Linked DNA regions of Homo sapiens: all the other regions are linked to region 2. Evidence: promoter capture Hi-C in 16 types of primary human blood cells and fetal thymus (Javierre and others, 2016). All regions are on one chromosome and are shown on one strand. The core of a region is centred on a gene start or on the middle of the fragment in contact, and the rest is flanking DNA. Distances in the headings are between cores, read along the strand shown.

What was found. The method cuts DNA at HindIII sites, captures the fragments that hold promoters and counts their contacts. A CHiCAGO score of 5 or more calls a contact.
Region 1: a contact is called between a fragment that was not itself captured here and the fragment with the promoter of B3GLCT in region 2, in 1 of 17 cell types (megakaryocytes). The highest score is 5.8, in megakaryocytes.
Region 3: a contact is called between a fragment that was not itself captured here and the fragment with the promoter of B3GLCT in region 2, in 1 of 17 cell types (megakaryocytes). The highest score is 5.6, in megakaryocytes.

The regions. Positions count from the first base shown.
Region 1 is chr13:31,728,147-31,733,256 of GRCh38, forward strand. No RefSeq gene overlaps it. Among named protein-coding and RNA genes, the nearest start is that of RXFP2, 8.8 kb to the right of the region's middle. The HindIII fragment of the contact is 250 bases long and covers 1,554-1,803 here.
Region 2 is chr13:31,197,455-31,202,075 of GRCh38, forward strand. It overlaps B3GLCT (beta 3-glucosyltransferase), which reads left to right and starts at 2,521. Exons shown (of 15, transcript NM_194318.4): 1 at 2,521-2,700. The coding sequence starts at 2,631. RefSeq lists silencers at 2,162-2,221, 2,272-3,171, 3,232-3,481. The HindIII fragment of the contact is 2,637 bases long and covers 981-3,617 here.
Region 3 is chr13:31,798,252-31,802,767 of GRCh38, forward strand. It overlaps RXFP2 (relaxin family peptide receptor 2), which reads left to right. Exons shown (of 18, transcript NM_130806.5): 18 at 3,895-4,516. The coding sequence ends at 4,154. The region is part of intron 2 of LOC105370152 (a long non-coding RNA gene); the gene reads right to left. Among named protein-coding and RNA genes, the nearest start is that of RXFP2, 61 kb to the left of the region's middle. The HindIII fragment of the contact is 168 bases long and covers 1,693-1,860 here.

The sequences.
Region 1 (5,110 bases), core at 429-2,928, 530 kb after region 2:
TTTACATTATACTGAGTGGTAAAAGACTGCATGCTTCCCCCTAAGATCAGGAACAGTCAAGGATGTCCACTCTCATCACTTCTATTCAACATTGTACTGAAGGTCCCAACGTGTGCAAAAAGGCAAGAAAAAACATACAAAAGGCATACAGATTGGGAAATCAGTGTAACTGTCTTTATTGACAGATGGCATGATAATCTATGAAGAAAATTCTAAGTAGTTTACAAAAAAGCTACCAGAATTAGCAAGTAGGTTTAGCAAGGTTTCTGTATATGAAGTCAATATGCAAAAACAATTGTATTTCATATACATGCCAGAAACAAAAATTGCAAATTATTTTTTTAAAGATAGGGTCTTGCTCTCTTGCCCACGCTGGAGTGCAGTGGCATGAGCATGGTTTACTACAGCCTCGAATTCCTGGGCTCAAGTGATCCTCCCACCTCAGCCTCCCAAGTAGCTAGGACTACAGGCATGCACCACCGCACCTGGCTAATTTTTTTTTGTAGACACAGGGTCTCACTGTGTTGCAGAGGCTGGTCTCAAACTCCTGGCCATCCGCCTGCCTCAGGCTCCCAAAATCTTGGGATTTTGAAATGAAATTTTATTTTAAAAAGTATAATTTCCTATAATATCTAAAAGAATGAAGGATGATTTTAACCAAATATGTGCAAGATTTGTACACTGCAAACTACTTTCATGGCTGAAACTTTCATGGCTGAAAGAAATTAAAGAGGACCTAAATACATAGCCACTAATACCATGTTTATGAATCAGAAGATCCTATATTGTTAAGAAGTAAATTCTCCCCAAATTTAGTTCTAGATTCCACACAACCCCAATCACAATACCAGCAAATGTAGAAATTGACAAGCTCATCCTGTGGAAATGCAAAGCACCTAGAATAGCATAAACAACTTTGAAAAAGAACAAAGTTGAGAATGTGTTTTGAAGACTTATTACAATTCTACAGTAGTTAAGACAGTGTGGTATTAGCAAAAGGATAGACTGTGAACTCAATAGAATAAAATAGAAAGTACAGAAATAGACCCACAAATGTATGCTCAATTAATTTTTAGCAGAGTTTTCAGGGTAATTCAATAGGGAAATGATAATCTTTTTAACAGCTGTTGCTGGAGCAATTGGACAGCCATATGCAAGACCTTGACTCTTTTCACATATCATGAACAAAAAATAACTCAAAATTTATTATGGACTGAAATGTAGGAACTCAAATTTATGTAAATGTAAACATAAAATTAGTGATTTTATTGTATATAAGCTATAACTCAATAACTTGTTTAAATATTTTCATTTTTCTACAACACATATTTTGTTTCTTTTGTTTATATTGAGTGCTAAAAGAATGAGTTAAAATTCTCTTCTCATAGAAAGCTAGTATTTTACAAAGACCCGGTTCAAATCATAATCTCATCTAGCATTTGTCCTAGGAAAGTCTTATAGATTAAAAATCTGTTTCCTAAGAAACACAGAATTGCATATAATGTTTCAGTTTTTCAGGAGGGTTCCTATATGCATCCACTATATCCACTAAAAGCTTCATATATCACTGAACTTGGCAACAGCTATATAAGAATTATAATTCCAAACAATTCTTTATATAGTTACCTCAAGAGATTTGTTTATGAAACACTTCAACAGCAAATATCTCAAGGTAAAATTGAACAACACAAAAATAAGAAACTGATAGAAGAACTCTGCTTTAGTAAAGCCAAACTGCCCCCTCGGTAAATATTTATTAAGCACCAAGCTCACATATATGTCATAGAAACCGATGATGATGTAAGCTTTGGCCCTCCCCAAAAACCAGCAACCAAGCCATTCCTGCGAAAACTGGTATTTATTACTGAACCATGGGCTGCTGTTCTGTTAACAATATCTGAATGTGATCCTGCCTGATATGGTTGTTGATATGTTGCATGACTTCCTAAGTAACTGGTTGTTAATCACGTCAAATGGAAAAATAACACTGCCAGGTGTGAGGTGAATAAAAACTGTAACTATTATTGTCATACTCTTGGAAGAGAAGCCTTCTCACTTTCTGATCTTCCTTAAGAAGAAAAGAAAATAATAGATACAAGTCTGGAATTCTCCGACCACTTTCATGGTGTTCTTCAAAGTGTGGCTATGACATTTGGAAATCTCTCATTGTTTTAGTTTATTTTTATTTTTATTTTTTAAATTTATTTTTATGTGTTTATTTTTTTAGACAGGGTCTCGCTATGTTGCCCGGGCTGGAGTGCAGTGGCGCAATCTTGGCTCACTGCAACCTCCACCTCATGGATTCAAGCAATTCTCGTGTGTCAGCCTCCCAAGTAGCTGAGATCACAGGTGCACCACCAGGCCCAGCTAATTTGTGTGTGTGTGTGTGTGTGTGTGTGTGTGTGTGTGTGTGTGTGTGTGTGTGTGTGTGTGTTTTTAGGTAGAGATGGAGTTTCACCATTTGGACAGGCTGGCCTTGAACTCCTGGCCTCAGCCTCCCAAAGTGCTGGGACTACAGGCATGAGCCACCGCACCTGGCCCCCAGTTTATTCCTCTTAACTGTTCTCCACTGTACATGTTCACCTTATAAGTGTTTGTCACTGATTGCTCTACTGCGTAGGTTCTTTCTCTCAGCACATCCACCTTTCATATACTGTGTTGTTAGGCACACAGCAGTAACGACGTGTCCCCCTGCCAGTCCGATCTTCCTAAGTCATATCATATTAGATGACATATATATTTTATATCTATAATATAATAATGAATAATATGTATGTTAAATATGGCTAAGTGAACATCATGGATAGACTTGGAGATGTACAGAATAGAGGGAAGTATCTCCAGCCTCAGGAGGCTTGTGGAAAGCAAAGGAAGTTCAGATTCTAGACAGCTAGCTGTGCTCCATTTTATATATATATATATATACACACATATACACACACACACACACACACACATATACATATAAAAACTTCAGGCCACTGTTGGCACCAGCCAGTGAAATCATTTCTCTCTCCAGTACCTCAGCCCCTGTCTCGGCTGCCTTCCTCAATCCCTTTCAGATCCCTTGGTCCTTGGTAGAGCCCGGGGGGCTCCTAACATAATGCCTTAGAGCAATTATCCTTGCATGCATCTGCCTTGGAGGTGGCTCTGTGATTTAATAGAGAATCTCAGTCTTTCTCTGGCTCTGTGCTTGAAAAAGTCTAGTTATTTGACCTCATCAATTTGATTGAAATGAGCTACTCTAGATCCCATGAAAATATACGACCATTTCAACATTTTCACAGAGTTTAGTGTTTTATTTTCCCCATTCATTTGTTAACTCTGTATGCCTTAAATACCCATTTTGAAATCCATAGTATTGTACTGAAGGATCCAGCTAATTTTCAGCATATAATTATTGTATGACTTCATAAGTAACTGGTTGTTAATCGTCTTAAATGGAAAAATAACACTGCTGGCTGTGAGGGGTGATTTTTCTTTTCCGCTTCTTTTCCTTGGGTTTACCCAGTTGAAGCCTGTGTATGCTAGCCACATAATAAATGCTCATTAGATAGTGATCTGATATTAACCGTATGTGACCCTAGTACCTTGAGTGACTTACAATTTTAATGACTTTTAATGAATATCTCCTACTATGTAACACCTGAATGATTTTAAAATTTTAATTCATTTCTCTTTAGCTTTTCAATCCCTTTATTCTTAAAGTATTTTAAGGAAATATTTTTGCAAGTGAAACTCCTTGTTTCCCAGACTGCACCTCTTTCCTGCATTCTGAAGTCTGTTTCCACCTGCTGGCTAGACATTGCTGTCTGGATGTTCCTCAAGTTTCTCAGGCTCAGCACATGGAAATACTCAACATCATCCTGATCAAATGCTCCTCTTCGTAAGTCTGTTATTCAGTGGCTCAATCCAGAGACCTGAGAATCACCGGAGACTTCTCTCTCTCCCCCTTCCTCCCATGACTCATCATCCCATCAATTCTTCCTCCAAAATACATCTCACATCTGTTTCCTCTCCTCATTCCCCCTGCCACGCTGTTGGTTCGTGCCTTCTTAGATGAATGCAATACATCTTACAGGTCTTCCTGCCTTCAGGGTCTGTCCTCTCCAGCACACCCTCTCCATGGGTCACGCCAACCTATTCTCCCCTCCTTGATTCGAGCTTTGCAACTACTCTCCCTTTCCCACCACGTGAAGTCTACATTTCTTCCCATGGCTTAAAAGGTACTTCACATGCTCCACTTCTACTTGCACGCCATGCCCTCCCACAGACCCCTTCACTCCAGCCTTCTACATATGCCACACCCCCTCATATTTCATCTTAAATGTAAACTCCAAATTTCATGAATGAACCCATCAATAAATGAAATAAAAATATGCATCCTGACTGTCCCAGGATTGCCCAAAGAGGAGCAGAGTTAACTTGGATATTCAGAGATTCATCTGTGTATTGAATAGTTGGGGCTTTGCTTCTGCTCACTAATTCTTTCATCCAAAATGAACTGTTTAGGGCATCCTGGGGAAGATGTTTTTATCCTGCTAACTCTTGGGAATAGGAGGAGGAAGTGGCTGGCAACTGAAGGCTGGAACACTTGCTACTGGTAATCGCAGCTTTTAACGTTGCACCTCTTTAGATACTTGAAGAATTCTCTGTTTTGGTTCCATTTTGTACACTTTTGAAAAATAATCTAAAGAAATGAGCTGTGCTCATAGGGCTTCATAGCTCCCAAGAATTAAAAAAAAAAATTCACTCAATCAACTTAATTCCCTTTTCTTTATCTTCCCTCCCTCGTTCTCTTTCTGTTCCACTCTCTTTTCTAAGCTGTTTCACTTTGCAATACCTTGCTGGTAAAGAGTTGCAAAATAATGCAATCTTGACTTGTTTTCTCCTAAGTATTTGATTTAAAACTCCTGTATCTAAAGAAATACACTTGGGGTCATTAATAAAGAAAATCTTTTTATCTGAAAAAAAAATTCCCAAGAGTTAGTGGGATGAAAACTTTTCTGCATGCTTCAGGCAGCTGTCAGAACGAAGGAAATGAGGTAATCGAGAAACGGAGCACAGATCAATGTTTACACTCACGCAAAAGGCGAGATAGGAGAAGAGA
Region 2 (4,621 bases), core at 1,271-3,770:
TGGGCCCAGGACCATGTTTTATGCTCTTTAATATCTGCCCCAGAGCTTAGCAAAGGGCACATCAGCTAGAGGTGCTCCCTATCATTTGAATGAATGGAGTTCAGCCTTTTGGGCCTCAAGGATAACTGTTGTAAGATCAGAAACCATCTGTTTGGAACTTGTTCATTAGATTATTTGGCTCTCAGTGGTTTTAGTATGTCTTTATGTTCTCCTTTAGTATTTAGAAAATTATCTGTAAAATTACCAGTCTGTTTTAACCAGGTTGCGACAGTGCCTTCCCCAACAAAAGATGGCTCCTTGCTTCTTCCCCTGTCCCTCAACAAAGAAAGTTTCAGGGGCCAGCATGGAGGTGACAGCTGGGATTGAGTAAATCCCAAGAAGATGGCTTGCTTGTTTTCATATCACAATCTTAAAGTTTATAGGATTTATTTTTTTTCTACTTAGAGTTGTTCCTTTACAGTCAATGTTATAGGCAAGCAGTGCCTATCATGTATCTGTTAGTATCCTCATCAGTACGTTGCTCTAGGAAACTCTCCTGACATGTGATTGGGAGAGAGAACTCCCAGCAAGTCCATTTATCATATGACTAGAGTAAGTGAAAGGCAATTCTTTTTAAAATGTGAGTTATGGAGCTTTGTAATGTGCCATTTATCTATGTCTACTGTGGAAAGGAAGGACACCAGGGCAAGTTTATTACTTAAACGGTGTGTTCTCTGTTGTCCTTAGGGCTTAATTTTCCACACCTTGTTCTGGAACATAGTAATACTCTAACATGATGAATTTCCATGAAAACATTGATTAAGCACCAGGAGTTGCTTACCCACGTGGAGTAGGCATTTGACCCTGCTTATTAGTCTTCTGTGTCTAATTAAACAGTTTGGTTAAATGTTTACTACCCCACATATGCAAGGAATATTTTCTTGGAAAAAAGCGAAAACAGCTTTGGAAATTGGAAACAATCTAGAACTACTAGGCAGGTAAGCTTGAGAATTTCCCAAGGATAAAAGCAATGAATTCAGTCAACCATAGATTTGAAATGCTTCACTAAGAAATGAAATGGAAGGATCCCTACATTTCTTTTTCCTCCCATCAAAATGGTATTGACAAGAGACCATAAACCTTGGGCGAATGGAACAAAAGGGAACTATTTGCACTCACACTAAATGGATCACACGTGAAATATTTAGTTCCCAGTTTTAAGAAGTCAATATAAACCACACAGAGAGAAAATTCTTTGTCTCCAGGCCTCCTTTTCAAAACAATCCCAGCAGGTATTGCACAATTGCAGACAATACTGTCCTAATGCATTAGAGCCTAAGTCCCCTAAACGCATTCAAGTTAAGAGGGCTCAAGCCTACAAATGTTTATTCAGCACCTGCTTCTCTGTCTCCAGGACATCCTACTTGTATTCCCAGGGCCATCCTACTTGTACTCCCAGGGCCTCCTCCTCCTTAAATGTTTAGCAAGTAGGTGAATGTTGTATGTCCATGTGAAAGATACTGGCATTCCTAGGGTGCTTAGCAGAGTTGCAGTCACATAGTAGGTATCCAACAAATGAGTAAATATGAAGGAAAACATAGAAACTGCCTTCAAGAGGTCATGGGCTAAACTAGGGCTGGGAAAAGCACTTGGTCCTGTGCACTTCCTTGGAAACAGAAGTGAGCCAAGGCTTGAGGGAGGCACGAAGGAGTTCAGAACCACTGAAGGGAGCCTCTAGTTCTTACTTGTAATGCTTTCCCCTTCAGTGCACCACACAACACAACAGGACCAGTCCCCTATCAGGGCCACCACTCTACCGGGCTGGGGAGGAAAGCCCTTCGCAGTCCTGCGGGAACAGGAGGCACTCCCACATTGCTCCACTTCTCTGTATTCCAGTTTAATTAATTTTTATATTTTGAATAAAATTACACCCACTCTCTTCCATTATGGTGAACACTTAAAATTACATTTATAGAAAATTACATTTACACAAACTTGTTTAAAAGCCAAATCCCAGACCTAGGCTATTGGCCAAATTCCATTTAAAGGGGATATTAAGTAAATTAGTTGAGCTGATTAAAAACACCTTCATCAAAGTAGAGCATTGGTGCCAACAATATTAAGAGTTGAACTATTGATTACATTTTTTTTTCCACAGCAGATAATACATTAGCAGGGAGGAAAAGTGATTACTGCTCGCTTCCACTTCACAGGTAGAACTACTGATGGGGGTGACGCGGTAAGGTGGGAGGGCATGAAGGCAGGGGACGCGGCCTAGGTCAGGAGGGACGCAGAGGAGAAAGGAAGAGGAGGGGTGGAGGCTGGTGGCTGGAGGGGGCAGAGGTCAGACGCCTCGAAGGAGGGCGCCGTGAGGGCAGAGCCGCGGCCACCTCTACCGCAGCAGCCCGTCGGGCCGGACACCAGCCGCAGCCGCCAGCCCGGCAGACGCTGGAAGCGCGCACAGGGGTGCTCCCGCTCCCGGCCGCCAGAGGGCGCGGCCGGCGATGGCGCGGCGGAGACGGAGGGAGGAGGGGAGCCGGCAGAGAAGGGTCAGCCGCGGCGGCAGGGCGGCGGCGGCAGCGGCGCAGCTCCGCTCCCCGCGCGTCTCCCTTCCCCGCGCCCAGGTAGGGCGCTCAGCCTCCGCCGCCAGGATGCGGCCGCCCGCCTGCTGGTGGCTGCTCGCGCCGCCGGCGCTGCTCGCGCTCCTCACCTGCTCCCTGGGTAAGTAGCGGGCGGCCAGGCGCGCAAGGGCGAGGCGTGGGGTTCGCGGGCACAGTCGCCCGTGCCCCGGTCGGCGCGGGGAGGGAGGCGCAGGGCGGCCCAGCCCTGCCCCGCCGGCGCGCGCGTCCCGCCGTCCGGTCCCCGCCGCGCCGCGCCGTCAGCAGCGCCCTCTCGCGGCGCCCAGGTGGGACCCGGGCCCGGGACCCGAGGCGTGCCCGCTCGGCCCCTTTCGGTCTTGGGTCCCCGCTGCCGCCCCGGCCCCAGACTCGCGTCTCCCAGCCTCTGCCGCCCCGAACCGGCGGGCGACGGGGCGGCGAGGGCGCAGCAGCCGCCCCCACAGGAAGCGCGCAGGAACTGTGCCACCGAAGAAACTTTGCAACAGCGCGAGTGGCGGCGGCGGCGGTCCCGCCCCCCTGCCTTCCGCCCGCGCTCCGCCGTCCTGCGCGCCCCGCGCCGGGCGGGAGGCTGGACGGGAGCCGGCGAGGCGGCCCTCGAGGCCCCGCGGCTCCTGTTCGACCCCCGGGGGCGAGGACTGCGGTCCCGGTGTCCGCGCGCCCCTCCGCAGGGCCTTCGGGACGTGCCCTGGCCCCTGAGGATAAGCGGCCAGCTCGGCGCCAGCCCTTCCCGGATTCCGACCCGGAGGAGGACAGGGGCGCCCGCTGGGCCTCCGCGGGAGCTGGCGCGGCGGGGAGGCTTGCTCCTGTCTCGGGTCTCCGCTGGGGACATCAGGGGACACGTCTGCGAGCAGAGCAGTGCTTGCCCGGTCTCCTGCTGCTGTAATGCCCATTCTTTTTTATTTCTTTTCTCCTCGCAAGGGCATTTCCCCCCTTTATCTTAAAACGATGTGATAAAAGTTAAAAAAAAAAAAAAAGCAGCCTTGTAATTGACTTTCATGATCAGATTTGTTCAACTTTGAAAGCTTGAGCGAAAAATTATTTTTTTTTCAGACTGCTACAGAGTTTTTGTCCTCTAACCCAGACTTGCTGGTGTGAAAAGGCAATGATTTCAGATTTTTTAGTAATGGCAGAATGGTGCAGTTTAGGAAAAGACGTAGCGTTATTGCGCACTGCTCTTGTTAGCCCACCGGAACCTTGACAGCCTGTTTTTATTTGTATTTAAGCTCTCTGAATAAGGATTAATTTGCTGCATTTGTGTACTTCTGGCATTTCTATAGGCGCTCAGTAAGTGTGGGAAAAGAGCAAGATTAGTTGGTAATTGTTTACATGCATGATTAATTAGGCAGCAGTGTAATTAAAAATATTAGGGCACCTCCGGCAGAGAAGGCTGTAGTTGGTCTTGGGGAGCGACTGAATTTGGCTGGAATCGGCTTCAGTGGAAGAAGGGCATTGCTGGGTGGCAGCCCTGGGAGAAAGGGAGGTTGGAGGTTTGGGAAAGCGACTGGGTGACTCCTGGCTGCATCAGTTGGCTTGTTGCCTGGATGTTTTGCAACTAACCAAATGGGTGGGTGGTAGCTGAAATTGGTATTCTATTTATAGCACTGCACTTTATAATGCTGTACTGGGGGTATAATATTTGTATATAATATATACAACATATGGGCTGAAATGCACATTTGTATTGCTGTGTCTATTTTTTATTACCCCCAGGGGAATATTTGCACTGTCCAAATTTGATAATACACTGAAGGACATTCAGAATGCACTAAGATGTCAACACATTTTTAGAGATGTCTATTAGCCTTGTGAAGTTGTCAGATAAGCACAATAAATAAGACATAAAATGCATTAAAAGGTCCCTGTGAGACATTTGGCCTTTGGGAACTGGCTTTCATGGGTTGGCACAGACGGGAGGCTGTATTCTTCGAGGTCTGAAGTGAATCATGAATACCTTTTATGGAGCTCTGCTTCGATTTAGGGGAAGGGCACCGACACGTATAAAGATGTCCCCACTTACGATGTTC
Region 3 (4,516 bases), core at 527-3,026, 600 kb after region 2:
ACTCAGTTGTGAGGCTATGTCAAATATCTTGCTGCAAAATACCACACAACATTCACAACATCCTCTTAAGCTATCAGTTCTGTCTCCACATGGCACAGATGCTCCTCAGGCCGTGTAGGATACGAAAGTGAAAATTAGGAAGGAGATCAGGTCAGGGCTGAATACTTGGAAGCCTTTGCTGGGTGGTGAAAGAAGAAGCCATAAGAGGGTTTTGTGGGAGGTCATGTGGGGAGACCCAGTTGCACGTGAAGAACAGAGATAATTAAATGTTAATAGTCACAGTTGTTCACTTGATGAACAGCCTCCAATCTATTACTGCTACCTGGACATCTCAATTTTACACCCTAACCTTTCAAATTCAGCAGGACAAAAGTGTCCGTTGGCCTCCATTGCTCATGGAACAAAGTCCAAGTGCTGGGATGAGCATTATAATATTTCTTACCTCCCACCCTCGTACACTGTGATCCAGGCCCACTGGAATGATTGGGCTTTGTTTTCTATGCTTTTCTGAGAAGACACCAGCCTTTCCTGAAGCTGTCCCCCCAACCTGGATTATACTTTCACCTTCTAAGATTTTAGCGTACTAAACACCACTTCCCATCCTCCAAGGCTCAACCCAAATACTCCCTCTTCTATGGTGCAGTGCCATTTTCGATCTCTTCTCACCCCACTTTCATGCAATCCAGTTGCTTAAACATCCATGATGGTTTGTTTACACCAGGTTTATTGGCCTCATGTGAACTGCCTCATAGCGACACTATTTCTTAGTGTGTCCATTGTGTCCTTCAGATGATAAGCTTGGGGAGGCGTGTATGTCTTATTCTTCTGTGCATTTTCCACAGTGTTTTTCACATAGTGCTTTTGAGTAAATGATTAGTCAACTAAAGAAGGTGAGCTGGTCCAAGAGTGATGGAATAGGGGATCAGTCTCATCAACCCCCTCCCCACTACTGTCTCCACACTTTCTTCAAAAAAAAAAAAAATGGAGTCTCGCTCTGTTGCCCAGGCTGGAGTGCAGTGGTGTGATCCCAACTGACTGCAACCTCTGCCTCCCTGGTTCAAGCGATTCTCATGCCTCAGCCTCCCGAGTAGCTGGGATTACAGAAGTGCACCACCACACCTCGTTAATTTTTGTATTTTTAGTAGAGACAGGGTTTCACCATGTTGGCCAGGCTGGTCTCGAACTCCTGACCCCAAGTGATCTGCCCCCTGCTTTGGCCTCCTAAAGTGCTGGGATTACAAGCGTGAACCACCAAGCCTGACCCCGTCTCCACACCTTTTGATGTGCTTTCCCACTTGTAGGGGGACGCAGCCTAGTGTGGTGGAAGAAGGACCCAGCAACAAGTAAGGCGGAGGTCCTGGGTTCCTCTCCTGCCCCTGCCACTGACTTGTTGAGTGATCTCAGGGAGACCATCTCACCTCACCTCAATGAGACTACCTCTAGATGGTCCCTCAAATTCCTGCCTGTTTTAATCTTCTTTGAGGCTTTTTCTGTCTGTATGAGGCCACTAGGACTGCTATAACAAAGGACGTCCAGTTCTGGAGGCTGGAAGTCCAAGATCAAAGTGTCAGCAGGTTTGATTTCTCCTGAGCCCTTCTCATTGCCTCACAGGAGGCGTCCGCTCTGCTGTGTCCTCACATGGCAGCAGAACTCATCATCCTCAGCGAGTCTACGACACCTCAGATCATGATAAGCTTAGTAAATACCCCCATGAAGGGAACTAGAAGAGTAGAACATTGTCTTGTGGAAACATTATTGAGCCACACACCAGTCTTTCTTTACATGTATAGTTCAATAGTCTGAGGTTTGTCTTGAACACCTCAGTGGAACCAGGAAAAATGTCATGATCACAGTTGACAAAGCTTCTTCTCGCTTGCCCAGCTTCCCATGGCGTTGTAAGAAATGCTGCCTTCACTGACCTAAACCAACCCTGTCCCCACCCTCCAAGAAGTCTGGCATTTACTGGTTATGGCATGCCACTGACAGTACCTGGGGTCACCCAAAAGATAGGCCAGAGTTAGCCTATCTCAGAACTCAGCTGCTGCTAATCTTATAAGAAGTCTCATCCCAGCACTTTGGGAGGCCGAGGTGGGCAGATCACGAGATCAGGAGATCAAGACCATCCTGGCTAACACGGTGAAACCCCGTCTCTACTGAAAATATATAAAAAATTAGCCGGGCATGGTGGCAGGTGCCTGTAGTCCCAGCTACTCAGGAGGCTGAGGCAGGAGAATGGCATGAACATAAGAGGTAGAGCTTGCAGTGAGCCGAGATCGTGCCACTGCACTCCAGCCTGGGCGACAGAGTGAGACTCCATTTCAAAAACAAAACAAAACAAAAACAAAAAGAAGTCTCATTCAGAGTAGAACTTAAGTCTATGGCCATACCACCCTGAACATGCCTGATTTCATTCAGAGTGGAACTTACGTGGCCTATTTGCCTTTGCCTAATTGAAAGCAGGCACTATCAGGCATTGTTTTTCTGTGAGATTGGGGTGGGATTCGTGATCACAATTCCCTTTGTGGGCACAACAGAAAAAGGCCACTTATTTTGTTTTTCTTCAATCACTAACTGTTCAGATTGTCTAATTTTTTTAAATTAGGGACAAATAATATAAAACTTAATTTAAGACAGGCTAAAACATAATTTTTTTCTTTCATATTCCTTTCAGTTAAAAAATAAGGACAAGGAAGAGAAGATAGGATAGGAAGAGAGGAAGGTAAATATAGAAAAGGAGAGGAAAGAGATCAAAGGAAAAGAAGAAGGAAGGTCAGATAAGCAGTCAGAGAAGAAATGGAAAAGGAAGAAGACATAGAGAGGAAGAACAGAAAGATACAAGAAATAAGGCAGGGTCAAGAGAAGAACAAAATAACAGTGGCTGAAGGATAAAAAAAATTATGAGATTGCGAAGGAGGAGAGCAGAGGATGATGAGAGAAAGCATCATGGGTCTTACTAGCCACCTCTTCACCTGAATGGGGAGTTCCTTGAAATTGTGAAGATGTGAGAGGAAGTAGCGTCCTGTGGTAAGGTTTGAGGATCTCAAGTCTTAGTACCAAAAAAGCACATCAGCAGAGCTGACTCTGGCCCAGCCCGCTGGATTCAGTGAGCAAGTTATCACCAGCCCCCTTTAACAGAGAGAGCAGATGAAGTTGAGGAAGCATAAGTGATTCGCTCACACTCAACCTAGCTAAGTGTCCGGCCACAGGATCAGGCCACGTGTAAAGGGAAAGATGCATTTTGTGCTAACCAAGCAAATGAAATGATGCTCTCAGGAAGGACACTATCATTCCAAATTTCACCTCACAAAGAACTTCTTGTGACCTCTTTCCCTGAATATTCTATTAGCATTTGTAGGGCTGCACACAAGAGAATTTCATCAAGTTTAGGGAATGCATTCCTCTTTGCTCTTCAAAGCTTTTAATAGGATAACAGGATAACCAGAACACCAGGGCAGGGCAATAAGCTTTGAGAACTGGATGGAGTTAAGACCAAGGTCAGATCTGGCTTGGTCCAGGGGACCAGAAGTTTTGTGAACCTCACTCTATTGACTAAAGATTATTTCTTTATTTTTTTATTTTCCTATAAAGGAAGGTGATAAAATAGGAAAAAATGCATTATATAGCAATTTATAGTTTACAAAATGTTTTCACATATTTCCTGTTAATATCACAATGACCTTCACATTATTTACTGAAACTCAGAAAAGTTAAATCGTTAAGACCTTGAATTCATAGCTTCTGTGCTCTTCCAACAAAGATTTTCCTTCAGGTGAGAGAAAACTTAAAATGTACTATGTCTCCCTCTCATAAATAGCATTGACTGCAAAGTGTTATTTGTATTTTATGTCTATTTAAAACTTCAACTTTTTTTTCACACTTTGCTTCCTTTTCCAGACACAATGACTTCCTGGATAGTGATTTTTTTCCTTCCAGTTAACAGTGCTTTGAATCCAATCCTCTATACTCTCACAACCAACTTTTTTAAGGACAAGTTGAAACAGCTGCTGCACAAACATCAGAGGAAATCAATTTTCAAAATTAAAAAAAAAAGTTTATCTACATCCATTGTGTGGATAGAGGACTCCTCTTCCCTGAAACTTGGGGTTTTGAACAAAATAACACTTGGAGACAGTATAATGAAACCAGTTTCCTAGCAATCATTTTGGATCACTGGACTTTCAGTGGACTACCTAAAACAGGGGACAGCTTTTGGAAGATGACATCTGCAATGCTTTTCATCTTTACCAACGGCAAGCCTTTCTGCACAGAGAGCACAGCAGAATGGCTCCTGTCACTGCATTCCAATGGCAGCTGTACTATCTACCAACCATGCTGAGGACAGCACCAAAGGTTCCTCTCCTCACCCCACATGCCTGAAAAGCACATGTGAATTCGTGTATAGTGGGCTGAGGTGCAGCTGATCTCTAGCTAATCAACACAACCCACCAACAAATGACCACAGGTTGGCACTGTGTGGTCTTTCACATCGGGTTGCACTGTCCATGAAATAGAAACA